Linked DNA regions of Homo sapiens: region 1 is linked to region 2. The links are contacts of gene promoters, found by promoter capture Hi-C in human tissues and cell types (Jung and others, 2019). All regions are on one chromosome and are shown on one strand. The core of a region is centred on a gene start or on the middle of the fragment in contact, and the rest is flanking DNA. Distances in the headings are between cores, read along the strand shown.

Region 1 (7,042 bases), core at 997-3,496, 37 kb after region 2:
ATCTTGCTTTGGTAGAAGATAAATATGTTTTCTTCTTTAGTTGATCAGTAGGCAAATATAAAGGGAATATCATTATACTAATGTTTGATTTTTTCTACTGAGCTTCCTTCTAAGGAAGTTTGTAGGATATTTAAGCTATGCATTATTTTTCAACCAAATTCAGCTTGAATAATGTCATTAAGTGATCATCTTTAGGTAAGCTTTTCATTCATTCATTTATTCAACAATTATTTATTAAAGCACTCTGAATTTTTCCTACTTAGTTTCCTTTCAACCTCTAGACAGTTTAGAAGTATTGGAAAATGTTAGGAAGTTTTATGCTTTAGAGATCATGAGTTTTAGCGCAAACATTTTCTTATTTAAGAATGAATAGTTCTGAAAAAGAAATAGTAGCTTTATTGCAATCTATCTCCTGAGCTGTCTTTGAGTCTGAGCCCATTGCTCTCATGGGAGAGAATTTTGGCCTGTGGCTCTGCTGAGTTACCAGAAACTTTGATTATGGATCTGAGGCTGTCATTCTGTCCTAGAAGCTGAGTTTAAAGCCAAGAAGATTAAATTGTACCAGAATGAGGAATATAATTCAAGAATCTTAAAGGGACTTTGTAGAGTTACCTGGGATTTAAAAAGTAATATTACTAAGCTGCTTTTTTTGGGTTCAAGAGACTTCAAATCTGCCATCTCATGCCAGTGTTTCCTGTCTCTTATTTATATAAAATTATTTTTTAAATAAATAACAAAACGACAGAAAGAAAAACAAAAAAGATGAATGGCAAAATTAACATTCCATGAAAAATTACAAATGCAAAGAAAACTCTCTCCAAAGAGTCCAGTTAAACTTTTCACTTAAATTATGTTATCTTAAAGTGACTAGCAAAAGCTCTCTGCCTGTGAATTAAGAAGCCTGGGATTATTTTTCTGGGAGAACGCAAAAGATAGGATGAAATTACTATATCCCTTTTTGAATTCTGAGATTTCTAAGCCACAGGCATGAATTTTTAGCCTGCCACTAATTACTTCTGTATGCTCATACTGTGTTTCATCAACGTGGGTGATAAAAGTTATGCTACAGTTTATTCTGCAGATCACTTTAGGATCTACTGTCAAGTCAAACAAAATGGAATTAATTATGAAAGACTTCCAAAGAACAGGTTCAGGCAAATGGGACGCTGTTTTAGCTCTTGAAAGATCACATTTGTTTGGGGGATTTCAGAAAATTAATCTGTTCTAGAAATCAATGTGTGCAGCATTGTTCAGATGAGAAAAATAAATGGTGTTATAAGGAAGCTTTATTTTAGTTGTAAGTTCCTCTTGCCTCAGTCTTCTGATTTTTATTTCTGCACTACTAATGAAAATTTTCTGTTTACATTGGACTGTTATTTTCATATGACTTGAAGGTTCTTACTAATTTTCCACTTTGAACTTTGTCCTCACTTTCAATTTTCTAATTATCTCTGGTTATTTTGTTTGAATTCCTAATACCCTTTTATTTATTTCCTCTTTAATGCTCAGGTTCTTTTCATCCTGATTCAGAGGTCTGTTTTTATAATCCACAGATCATCGTAATAGGATTAATGTCCATAAAGAAGATGGACATATTTATTTTAAAGATTAATAATGAACGTGTAATAACCAAGTCTATACCACTGACACTAAAGAATGATGATCAGGCTGCTCATAATTAAGAGGATTATCATTTTCATACTATTTATGAATCATATAAACTATTACCAAAATGAATATTCATAATCCTTATAGTTATGGATAAAATTAAGAAAGCAAGCTATAAGGAAAAATAATAGCTCAGAACAATCCAGTAAGTTTTCCAGGGAATTTCAAAATGGATGTTAAGGACAATAACATTAAATGTTGACCCTTTTTCATAAAATAGACTTACATATATCAAAATTCCCAAATAATAATTCATTTTTAGATGGTACATAGCCTGTTTTAAGACAGACTTACTCCTACAACTAATAAAAATTTTATTATTACATTTATGCTAGCCGTTACATAATTTAGTGCTGATAATGTATTAATGATAGGGTTATGTAAACGAGACTATAATATTCTATAATTCTAAAACTATTTTCATTACCTCTACAGAAACAGAGGTATTTTCCAGGAAATCTAAAGGACACACTCTTTTTCTGGATTCCTTCCAAAGCAGTACATTAAATGACCTTGATTGTGCTTAGAATTTCAATTTGAAAACTAAGTTTGTATGTGAATTCTGGTTACAGGTTTTCACAGAATTTCTATTGAGGCAAAATGTGTACTAATACAAAATAAATACTGGAAAAATAAGACTCTAAAATGACATATTTGAAGATAAGTGAAAATATATTAAAATAAAAAATTATTTTTCATAGTATATAAAAGAGGGATATTATTAAGTTCATATTACATGTTTATTTATATAATTAAGATTCCTTCTAACTGTAACATTCAATAAATAATCCCCTTTCATAATTACAAAAACATGTAAAGATGTATTGAAATGATCTTTTTGTTTCTTCCTAGTGCTACTGATTCTGTTTTGATATGAAAAATTATCTCAGCTGATAATGAAAGAAGAATTTATTAGTAAAATTCTTATTATTTCAATTTTCTTACTTTGTACATATTACTAAAATATTACCTCTAATAAAGCACTTACCTTTCTTACATGAACCTCTTGCAGTTTTCCAGCAAACACCATATGGAAATTAAATTAAACAATATTTGATGTAACCTCTCCATTATTATTGCTGAAAAAGCCAAGAGAAATGAACAGACTTCAACTATATTAGAATACTTATGCTTTTAAAATTGATGAATGCAATTAGAAGAGAATATACATCCATGGGAAGAAAGTGACCTAGCCTTACAAATGGTGCCACAAACTGTTTTAGAAAAATACCCAAATCAACGGTTTTGTAGATTTGAAGCCAAATCTTGAGCTCTTGGTAAATATATGGGTGAAATAATAAAGTAATGGCTTTGATAATGACTTTCATAATATTAAAAGGACTAAGCAGTTACTTTATAAAACATTTTAACTTGTTGGCCCACAGTAAAAAGGATTGAGTAGAATGAACCTCTTTTCATTTTTTGAGGTATACAAAGGAAGTGTAAGCTCTTCTTGAAATGCTCACAGTCTTATTAGAAAAAAATGCGTTGTATTAGACTGAGAAAGCACTTTTTATTATATATTAAATTTATGCATTTAGTGTGATGACAATAGTTAAATTTTACTGGATGCTTTATCTTATTTAAGCATCATGCTATGATTTAGGCATCTTCTCATTCCTGATAACATCTATGGTAACTGCATCAATAACATATTAGTTAGCTTGCTCTAATCATAGAGGTTTTTACTCAGGTACAGTGACTACAGCCGCCAAGCTTGGATGCACTGTGCTACATGCTTAAAAGTTTAGAGACGAGACATTAGTGCATGGTAGAAAGGTCAGGAAATGCTTCACACAGTATGTGGCAATTGATTTATTTCTCAAAAAAGTGTTTGGTGTTGGAAAGTATTTACAGGTCTGGAAATCATGTGACAAAGACCAGATTGTCAGAGGGTGTGACAAAATTGGGGATAGAGATGAGTCTAGATTGAATAAAATAAATTGGGTCAGAATTTTATTGATTTGCAAGGCAGTAACAAATTATAGATTTTACGCTTTAGAAGGTGGGAAGATATTGACTCTTTGGGAGATTTATATTAATTATCTATAAACATTTCTTGCACAAACCCTGCAGTCAATGTTAAAGAGTAGTCTAGAATCAATTATTGCAATACAACCTTTAAGTTACAATAATGTAATATAAATGTGCATACCTAAACCAGAAGCAGCACAGCGAGGCCTGCAGATAAAGTGATATATGAGTTTTGTCTTGAAGGATGGAACTAGTGTTTTGGAAAGATTCATCTAACAGTAATGTGCAGAATGAATGAAACAGAAGAAAGACATAATATTGGGTAGAAAAGATAAGAGACACTATCATAAAAGGGATAACGTGTGGTAGAGGCATGATCAGTTGCCAATTTATTTTAAGCATGATAGATTACTGATCAGACACAGAATTTGCCCCAAAGAACTATGGTTTTAGATTAACATTATACATACGTAAGCTTACTCTTGGATAGTTAATTTAGTTTTGCTAACCATGAGGCTAATAAGACCAGGGTTATGGGGTTACTCACTGTTTCATGACATTGGAGTAAAGGCTAGTCAGAAATCTTATAAACCTTTCGCAAAATGACAAATACAGATAACGTAAATATCTCTGTGAATTTCACACCTATGATAATCAACATTGAAGTAAAATCCTCAAAAATATGTATTCAACTAAAAGTAGGCCAAGAGTATCATCACGGATTATAACGAACATAAATAATGGCGTAAAGAATCTACCAAGTACTTTGTCAGAATAAAATATCATGCGAGCTTTCTAGGTAGTGGTAAATATTGGTCTATATTTACAAACGGTTTTATTTGTCCATATAGTATGGCACCCATTATCATCCATGTAAACTAGAATACTCCACTGCTTCTGCCTAATAATGGCAATGATAACAATAAAACCAATAATAAAATAAATACTTATGCCTCAAATAATTTTAGAATTAGGGTAGAAACAAATAGCTACGATTTATTTAGCACATAACATAGTGGCATGATATAGTTTAATTTTCACATACTACAAACTAAAAATTTTTATAATTCTATATTATAGGTGAGTCAATTGAGACTCCTACAGCTAATATGTTTCTGAGCTAGGACTCAAAAGTGGGTAAGATTACAAAGCCCTGTGAAGTAGCTAGTATTTGTATTTCCTCCTTTATAAGTATTAGTTATGAATCACGCAGACATTTTATTTTTAATGCTTTCCTGATCTAGCTGCCTAAAATAAGAGTTTTAATAATTGCAAAATGTAGAAATGTAGGTAGTGAAAACATAAAAAGATCTGTGTACGTAATTAAATCTCAAGCCACACTAGTTCCCATGGTTCCTTTGTGTTACCCCTGAAATTTACATTTTAAATTATAAACCTAAATGCCTAAAGTAAACAGAAGACTATCTATCCTCAAATCCAATCCAATGAAGGACCTAAGATGCATCTCAAGATCCCATCTAATGGACTTCTCTATCACAGACTCTCAGCCTCCCTTTTCTTTTCTCCAGACTTTAATACTGGGTCCAGCTTTTGAGATCTCAGCGGGGAAAAAGGGAGGAGTGAGACTCCATGCATCAACATTTTGTCCTAGATTTTCACTGTGCTCTCATCAAAAGTGGCTTCAATCATTCTCCCAACTGCACTGACCCTCTCTGTCTGTATGCTCTTAAAGAATCATGCCAAGGAAGGCAGAGTCCTGGGAAAAGATGGTATTTTTCTTTTGCGTAAGCTGTTTGGACTCCAAGCTCCAATTAATGTTTAAAAACTCTAGAATTTTAAGAAAGTAAAGCTAATTTTAAGTAATTTGAAGAAAGTGATGTCCAAAGAATTTTAAAAATCTGGAATGTCCTGTTGGAATTTCTCTTCCCTTAGCCTCTTGTTATTTCCAGAGTTCGTTTCCCTTCTGAAAATTTTATCAATGATTTCAAATATTTACTATTCATTCATTTAAACAAGTGGTAAGCTTCTAATATATGTTAGGTCCAGTATTAGGCATAAGGAATGGAAAAAAAAAGTAAAATAGTGGAATTCACTTCCGCAGGAATCCAGGGGATATTTGCTGTCTTTGTGATGTAGCACCTGATAGTCTAGTAAACGAGTGGAGAAAGTCAGATGAAATTACATGACATGTTTTCATCAACATTTTTCCCCCACATAACATAGTTTCTGATGATGGGCAAGACAATAAGAAACATTGTATTGCAGTGATGGTGATGGAGGACTGGTGGTCAAAATCTCCATTATCACCATAAAATAAAATTTTTCTGTATCTTCAGTAGCAGTTTTTAGAGGTCTTGATTTTCCCTATGACATATCTAAACGTAAATAATAATACATCAAGGAAGTCCCTAAGTCAATAGTACTCTGTTGAAAGGAGCCCTTTGATTTAGTTTTCCAGACAGAGCTTTCAGAGATCATAATCATCCTGAATATTCCAGCAATGCTCAGAAAATAAAACTAATTTTAACTTTGCTCTAAAGATATTGCTTTAAATGGGCTTTTGACTGGCTGCCGAAAACTGTTTATTGATTCAATTTTCTGACTAACTGATAACAAAGATTCTAGTATCATCTGCCTGATTAGAATGCTTATTTGTACTGGCAGAACCAGCAGAAATTTTCTTCATCCTGGAAGAAACCTTGAACCCAATAAATATAAAATTATATATGTTGTTTTTTATTTTCATGGTTTTTATTCAGGTGAAATCTGGCGGTCATTAAAAAAATGTAAAAATTTGAAAAGTGCATGCTTGAGAGGAGAAAAAAATTGTAAAATGGCTAATTGCTGGGTTAAGTGGTGAAAGAGCTATTAATCGCTTTTTGTAGCTTGACCATTTAGAGGGTTGGCAGGATAGAAGACTCTAGAATATCCTGATTTAGGTATTAGCTACTAGCAGTAATATTAGTCTATTAGTCTTAGATACCAATTCATTATTCATTAGCTGCCTCCCTGAGGTCACTCCCAACATCAGCAGACAGGGTATTTCCAAAATGAGAGATTTCTGGGAAAATCGTCGTGGTTCAGAGAGAAAATATGCTGTGAAATCTTGATAGCAATGTACTGGTTGGCAGGTCAACAGTGACAGCAGCAGCAGCAAGAATGAATCAAGTTTCTCCTCCTCTTCTCAGGGTGATGCTCCTTCTCCTAAATATCAATAATATGCATTTATCAATTACCTGCCATCTTCTAGATATTGTAATGTGCACTTTAATTATTCATTACTTGATTTAATATTCCCAACCCATGTTTGAGATAAATGTTAAAAATCTCCTTTTATTAGGTGTGGGAAAAAGCCTAACATAAATAAAATAATTAGCGACATTCAACCAGCTAGAAAGTAAAAGAAATGGAATTCAACCTCAGGCATATGTGTCCCCAA
Region 2 (6,662 bases), core at 1,820-4,319:
CTGTTGAGTCTCTCCCCTCCTCCCATGCTCAGCTCAGTGCTATATCACTGGAAATCACTAACCTTCATAGAGTAGAGCCCAGAAGATGGTAACACTGGTTCAAGGACAGGCTAAGGGAAGCGAAGGGAAGTAAAAGGAAGTAAATAGGAAAATACAACAAACATGTGATTAACAGCTGTTTTCTGAAGCAAGGCTCCACCAGGGATCTGCAGCTGTGTCATTGTGCTTCAATTCTGCAGCTCCTACAGGGCTAAATTGGAAGAGGCATGGAGCAGGAAGATATGTGCGAAAAGGCTAAAGGAAGTCCAAAAACCGTGGCAACAATATAAGGTGAATGCCCCCACTCCTTAGATATCCTAATTTTTATCCCTCATGGGAGAGGTATAGGTCCATAAGAAACAAAGTCATCTTACCAACTGGATATCTGCTCCGAGCTGCTGCTGCTTCCTCTTCCTTTTTTTGGGGGGTGGGGGCCGATTTTGGAAGGGCAAATATTGATGGAACATCTACCAACACTGCCTCTTCCCTTTAACAAAATCAACATGATGCATGCTTACAGATTGCCTTTGAAAGTTACCAGTGCCTCCTCAAGATATAGTAGAGAAGCAGGTTTTAAGGTGTCAGACTGAGGCTTTCAAAATAATAGCTGCTAGGAGAATACAAGTTTGGGCCTGAAAACCCAGTTATGAGGCTTCCAAATAAATCAGTGGATTTTCAACTTTTTTTTGTAATTATTATATCCTAGTTCCCAAACAACCACAGTAAAGGAGGCACATGGAAAGCGAGGAAAAAATGAAATGGCATTGTCTTCCCCCAGGTGCTCAATCAGTATATTTCCTTTGATGTGTAGCCTTCAAGTAACTGACAACCCCAAGTGGCCCATTCTATAGGGTCCTGCATCTACGCTCCTTCCTCTGTGCGCTCAGCCCGGGTTGACAAGCAACCTCCAAATTAAACAACCTCCCACCACTACTTGGAAACAGACAACCATCTCTTAACAGGCCTCTGTAACACACAGCTTGATGAAAATCACTTACACAGGGCAGATGACACAGAGGAGTTTACAAGGTCGGGGCACTCCTTGGCGGGGCGTGAAAGGGTGGGAGGTGCTGAGGTCAGGGTTAAACTACCCTGTGAAATGAGCCTCCTGCCCTGCCCTTTCCTCCCTTCATCTATAGAAGGAGCCTCCAGTGAGTTCCTGCGTCTGGAAATCTGCCCCCTTTAGTGCCGCAGACAGGCCAGGGACAGCATTTCAAAGCTCCTCTAAATCAATCCACTTAAAAGAGCCCAGAAAAGCCTGACCATTGACCATAATTGCCCTAAATTGCTTGTTTTCCTTCCCCTCTTGCAGCCTCATCAACATTTCCCTTCTTTCCCCCTTCGTGTCCTTTTTTCTTGGGGGCGCAGGTCCTCTAGATGCTTGGGGTGCACACTAAGGATATTTGAGTAGTGGGAGCTCCGACTCGAGGCAGGAGTGGGATGTCTTAGCATTCCGTCTCCCCCACCCCACCCATCTGCGTGGGACACAGTGACTCCTAGAAGGGTATCCCAGGATTTTAGCGGCCAGGTGTGAGCGCCCTCCACGCGGTCCTCCGAGACCTCAGGGCGCGTGGCAACTGGGCAGAAGCCGTCTCTGCAGCGCCGCTGCCCCGGGTGGAGCGGCAGCCCAGGCTGCAGCAGTGGGGTTGCCACGCCGAGTTTTCCGCATCGGCCGCCCGCAGGGCTCGCCTGCTTCTCCCCATTGTGTTCTCAGAGCTGTGGGACCCAGCCGCGCGCGCAGCCGCACCCGCGCCAACGCTGGAACCGAAGGCTCATGGAAGCGGGGCTGGCAAGATGGGGCAGGGAGAAGGAGCAAGAAGGGGCCCCAGAAGGGCACGGCGTTTCATCAATAATGCAGAGGCTCCTGGACCTCCCTGCAATACGTTTTCCAGCTAAACGCCACCAACTGGAGCGCTTCCTGGTTCGTCCCACTCGTGTGGTTTTTGTGTGTGAAAGATGGGACGCACCTTTTTCATTCATCTGTCTTCTCTCATTCTTCCTCCTTCCCTCCCTCATTTCCTCCCTCAAAGTCCCCGCTGGCTTAGCTTTAAGCTCTCGTCTTCACATCAGCACCATGTTTTCAAGCAAAATCCTGCAGGTTGGAAATGCAAGTGTCAAAAGTCCCCACTGCCTACATACCGCCAAGAGTTTACCAAAATCCACCTAGTAACGCTTATTTTCAAAGCCCCCACGCGCATCCATTCCTGGAGAATGCTTTCAAAGTTTGGAAGCTCCCTGCAGCCTGCCCGTGTCTATGCCTCAGTCAGCTCACATCACGAACAACGGTGCGGTCAGCGGCACTGAGATTAGGCTGCAAAGTTGCCCGGCCCCAGCCCACTACACCGCTGATGCTCGCCGCATCCCTAGAGCAAATTCCGCTGTGTGCCCCCAAGAAGCCAAAAGCGGCACGAAACCTACTCCAACAAGGGTTAGCCCAGCCACACACACAACAAACAAATTCCAAAACTTCTTTGTTAAGCAGCCGCAGCCTACCTGGAACGGACACTCTGCACAACTGGCAAGGAAGAAACAAACATCGCATCCCTGCAGGAAAACTTGTTGAATCCCTCCCGATCGCAAGGCTGCAATTTCCGATTTAGCCTGAAGGTTTTTGATTCTACCCCAAAACACCCTGGCGCATCAGCCACAATTTCTGGATAAACTGCAGAGTCCTCTCGGCAACCATTCTGCACTCCAACAACCACTAGTGTAAAACCCAGCGTGTCCCCTTTTACAAATCAAAAGCCAGCTGTCACTTCCCTTGCAACCATTTCCGAGACTTACCCTTCCATAAGACTGTTTTCAGCAATCTAGAGGCTCCGTAGTGCAGACGCAGCCCTGCAACTTTGCTGTGCACTGAGACCTTTCCGAGTTTAAACCAAGCGAAAGGTGACAGACTTTTAAACCTAAGAGTGGGGAAATAGGGAGAGAGTGAAGTCGGGTTTCTTCTCTGTATCAGCACCCTGGAAAAATTCAATCCTTCTTCAGTAGAGAATTCTTTCAAACCCGTTATCTGTATTACTATTAATGCGCAGAGCAGAAGGCATTGCATACAAATAGGTCCAAGTGTGCGCTTCTATTGGTGGCTGCGGAGGCCCCTGGGTCCTACTGCTCCGGTCTAAACTACACAGCAACACTAGGCACGCAGCTTTGGAGACGCCGAGGGGAAAATGGATTTAATTGATTCGTTACCTCTGGTATTGTAATGCCTGCTGCGATGTTTAACCGAGGGGGGAGGAAAAAAAAAAAAAAAAACCCTTACATTTAACTCCTGTCATGTGATCTATCATTCCATAGCTGCTTTTAATTGTCTGTGTGGAGTGGCTTTGATCATACAAAGGATTTTAAAAGAACATTTTCGAAGGAAAATTCACACAGACACTTTTGGCAGGAAAACCCTCTTTTGCTCTCTATTATGCATTATTCTCATATAAATCCAGGAAATTTTATATAATCAAATACTTCTGCACTTCACGTAGGTACACACAACACCCAATTGTATTTACAATTCATAGCTACTACAAATAAAATACCTTACATGGGTAGTAGATAGTAGAAGCTAAAATATGAGTCTACCAATTATAAAACACGGGTTATATTAGTCAAATGCTACAGAAAAAATTCCATCAATGACAATGGCGTCAGCATCATTTTTACTTCGCAAAATTAGAAATTCAAAAATATTTTCCTTGTAAATATTGACATAAAGATATAAATCAACATAAAGGTATTATAATGTCACAGTATGTCAAGCATTTACTATTAATTGCTACATTATCTTTTTACAGTTTCTCTCTTAGCAAGTTCATTAGTAATGCAAATTGGCATAACAAGGAGATTTAAAGTGAGGCCGACCTGTGGTGACTAGCAATTTGAAATATTGTAATAGTGTGCAAAATCACTTTAGTTCATCATCGGTAAAGCCAGTTATTTTAAGAATTAGAATATTAAATGCTGAATCTTAATATATATTAATTTGAAGTCTTAAACATGCTGTTTTCTTTGACCTTTAATTTTGTGGAGGAAAAGAGAAATCCTTATTTAAACTAAAATGACATAGACTTTCCACAAAATCCTAGATACGATATTTACTGATATTATAATTTAGGAAGTAACATAATTTTATTGTCTTTGATGTAAATAATTGTGATAAATTCCAATTTAATTACAAAATTATTACATATATGTAATGTACAACTGAATGAACATTGTTGGAAAGGGCCACTCTGGATAAGGTTAACATCAACCAACCTATAAATTCACTACCTATGTGTAAACTAAATAAATGAAAACACAATGCAAAAATACAACAGACTCGAGATCTTATTCCAAATACATGTAAAGCATTTGAATTTATGTAGTGTGTGCTACAATCCCTCTTCATTTCCGTAACTCTTTCCCTTTACAGCCCCTTCCCTTCCCCCAATCAGTAACCCTTGACAACAGAAGTGTTAACTTCAAGTCCAGGTTGCCTTTGCTGCCTTCCAGACCTAACTTACAGATTGCATCCTTGTAGGAAACAGAGTTAACTCTTACACGACTGAGAGGTGAAAGAAGAGAGTTTCTTTCAGGGATTAGAAAATCCAGTATTTTTATGTGTATTTGCAAAGTTTGCACCAAACACATATTTTTAAAAATATCCATGATCACTAATTCAGAGTGAAAAGATGTGATCATTGGCATTGTATCAGAGTCAATTTGCTGTATATATCCATTGCTATTGTGTCACTGAAATAGCTTTTGAATAACTTTTATTCAGGGTTACTTCAATCACTTTACTTCAGGTTAATAATTTCTCCATTTACAATAGAGTTAAAATGAAAATACCAAAGTGTTGCAATATTCAGTATAAGGGTATAAAGGACTTTTTTTTAATCTGTAAAAGAAAAGAAAAGCTATTATTTCATATAGTAAGAAAAGCATAATGACCATGCAAAGTTGAATAAAGATGACTGACATTCATCTTATTTCTAAAACAAGTAAATTATTGGTGTTTCAACTTCTTTCTACAAGGGGATCTGAAAAAAATCATTTGCAACCCAACTACAAGTTGAAAGTTCTGCATTTAATGTGTATCATTTTAGAACTGAGAAAAGATGTGTTTTACACAAGCTGACAGATTTTATACAAAATCAATGCAGCTTATCTATGACCATAATTAAATGGGGAAGTTTGATAGTGGACACATATAATAGTGAACAGAAGAAAATAAATAAACCAAAACTGACCTAATAACAAATTTATTATATAATCTCTTGATAAGTTTTTACTTTCTATATAAAAGACTGATGTAAAAATATAGCAAGCTAAACAGAAACTTAAGTTTAACTTACTATTTTTTTAAAAAAGTTTTCTACATCTCTTCAATAAATTACTTGTTTATCCAAATTATTACCATATGAGATGTATATATATATATATATATATATATATATATATATATATATAAAATAAATATATAGTTGTAAATGTTGCAAATATATTTTCCTTACTTCTTGGATACTAAGGCAAAACATATTTTAAAGAAGGATATTAGAACCACAATAGTTTTCATATATCCTAGATCTGTAGGAATATCCTTGATCTATTCTTTATTATTTGAAGTATTGTTGGACCCCTCATTTTGTCAGTGCAATTTTCAAGGACAATATATGCTATGTCAGAAACTGATATCCATTATGTCCTTGGATCATGATGACAATGCCTTATTGTGGTTACTGTGAACATCTATAAAAGTTGGAAAGCAAAACATACATGGCATATCCCTGTCTGTCATTACTACAATCAGCTTCCTTTCTAAATTTAGGTGGGTAAACACGCAATAGCATGCCACTTGATAAAACTTAATGAAATATAATGACATTCAGCTACTATCCAAGCTATTTAAAAAATTCTGCCTTGAGTAATTTTGAAATATGTATAGTTTAAAAAATTTCAAAGCCACAGGCATTGATCTATGTGTCTCTTTAAATAGAATATTTATCCATGCTTGATTTTGACAGATGAAAAGGAAAACTACCAGACATATAAATTATATTCTGAAAGCAGAAATATAAAGAATGTTAACAGCTAAACAGGCATCTTTAAAAGTGTAAATCAGTACTAAACAGCAATATATATATACACACATATATATGTATATATACACATATATACACACATATATGTATATATACACACATATATACACATATATGTACACACACATATACACATATATGTACACACACATATACACATATATGTACATACACACATATACACATATATGTACATACACATATATACACATATGTGTACATACACACATATACACATATGTACATACACACATATACACACATATGTACATACACACATATATACGCATATATGTACATACACACATATATACGCATATATGTATATACACACATATACGCATATATGTATATACACACTTATATACACACATATACACATATATACACATATACACATATATACACACATATACACATGTATACACATATACGCATATATACACACGCATACACATATACTCATATATACACATGCATACACATATACGCATATATACACATATATACACATATACGTATATAGTCACATGTATACACATA

The links. The method cuts DNA at HindIII sites, captures the fragments that hold promoters and counts their contacts. A contact is called where the count stands out against the background at its distance.
Region 1: a fragment that was not itself captured here is called in contact with the fragment with the promoter of ROBO1 in region 2 in 3 of the 25 tissues and cell types used here (H1 embryonic stem cells, liver and pancreas).

Annotation. Positions count from the first base shown.
Region 1 is chr3:79,802,621-79,809,662 of GRCh38, forward strand. No RefSeq gene overlaps it. Among named protein-coding and RNA genes, the nearest start is that of ROBO1, 38 kb to the left of the region's middle. The HindIII fragment of the contact is 3,008 bases long and covers 743-3,750 here.
Region 2 is chr3:79,764,929-79,771,590 of GRCh38, forward strand. ROBO1 (roundabout guidance receptor 1) reads right to left here and starts at 3,070. Exons shown (of 31, transcript NM_002941.4): 1 at 2,824-3,070. The HindIII fragment of the contact is 15,501 bases long and covers 1-6,662 here.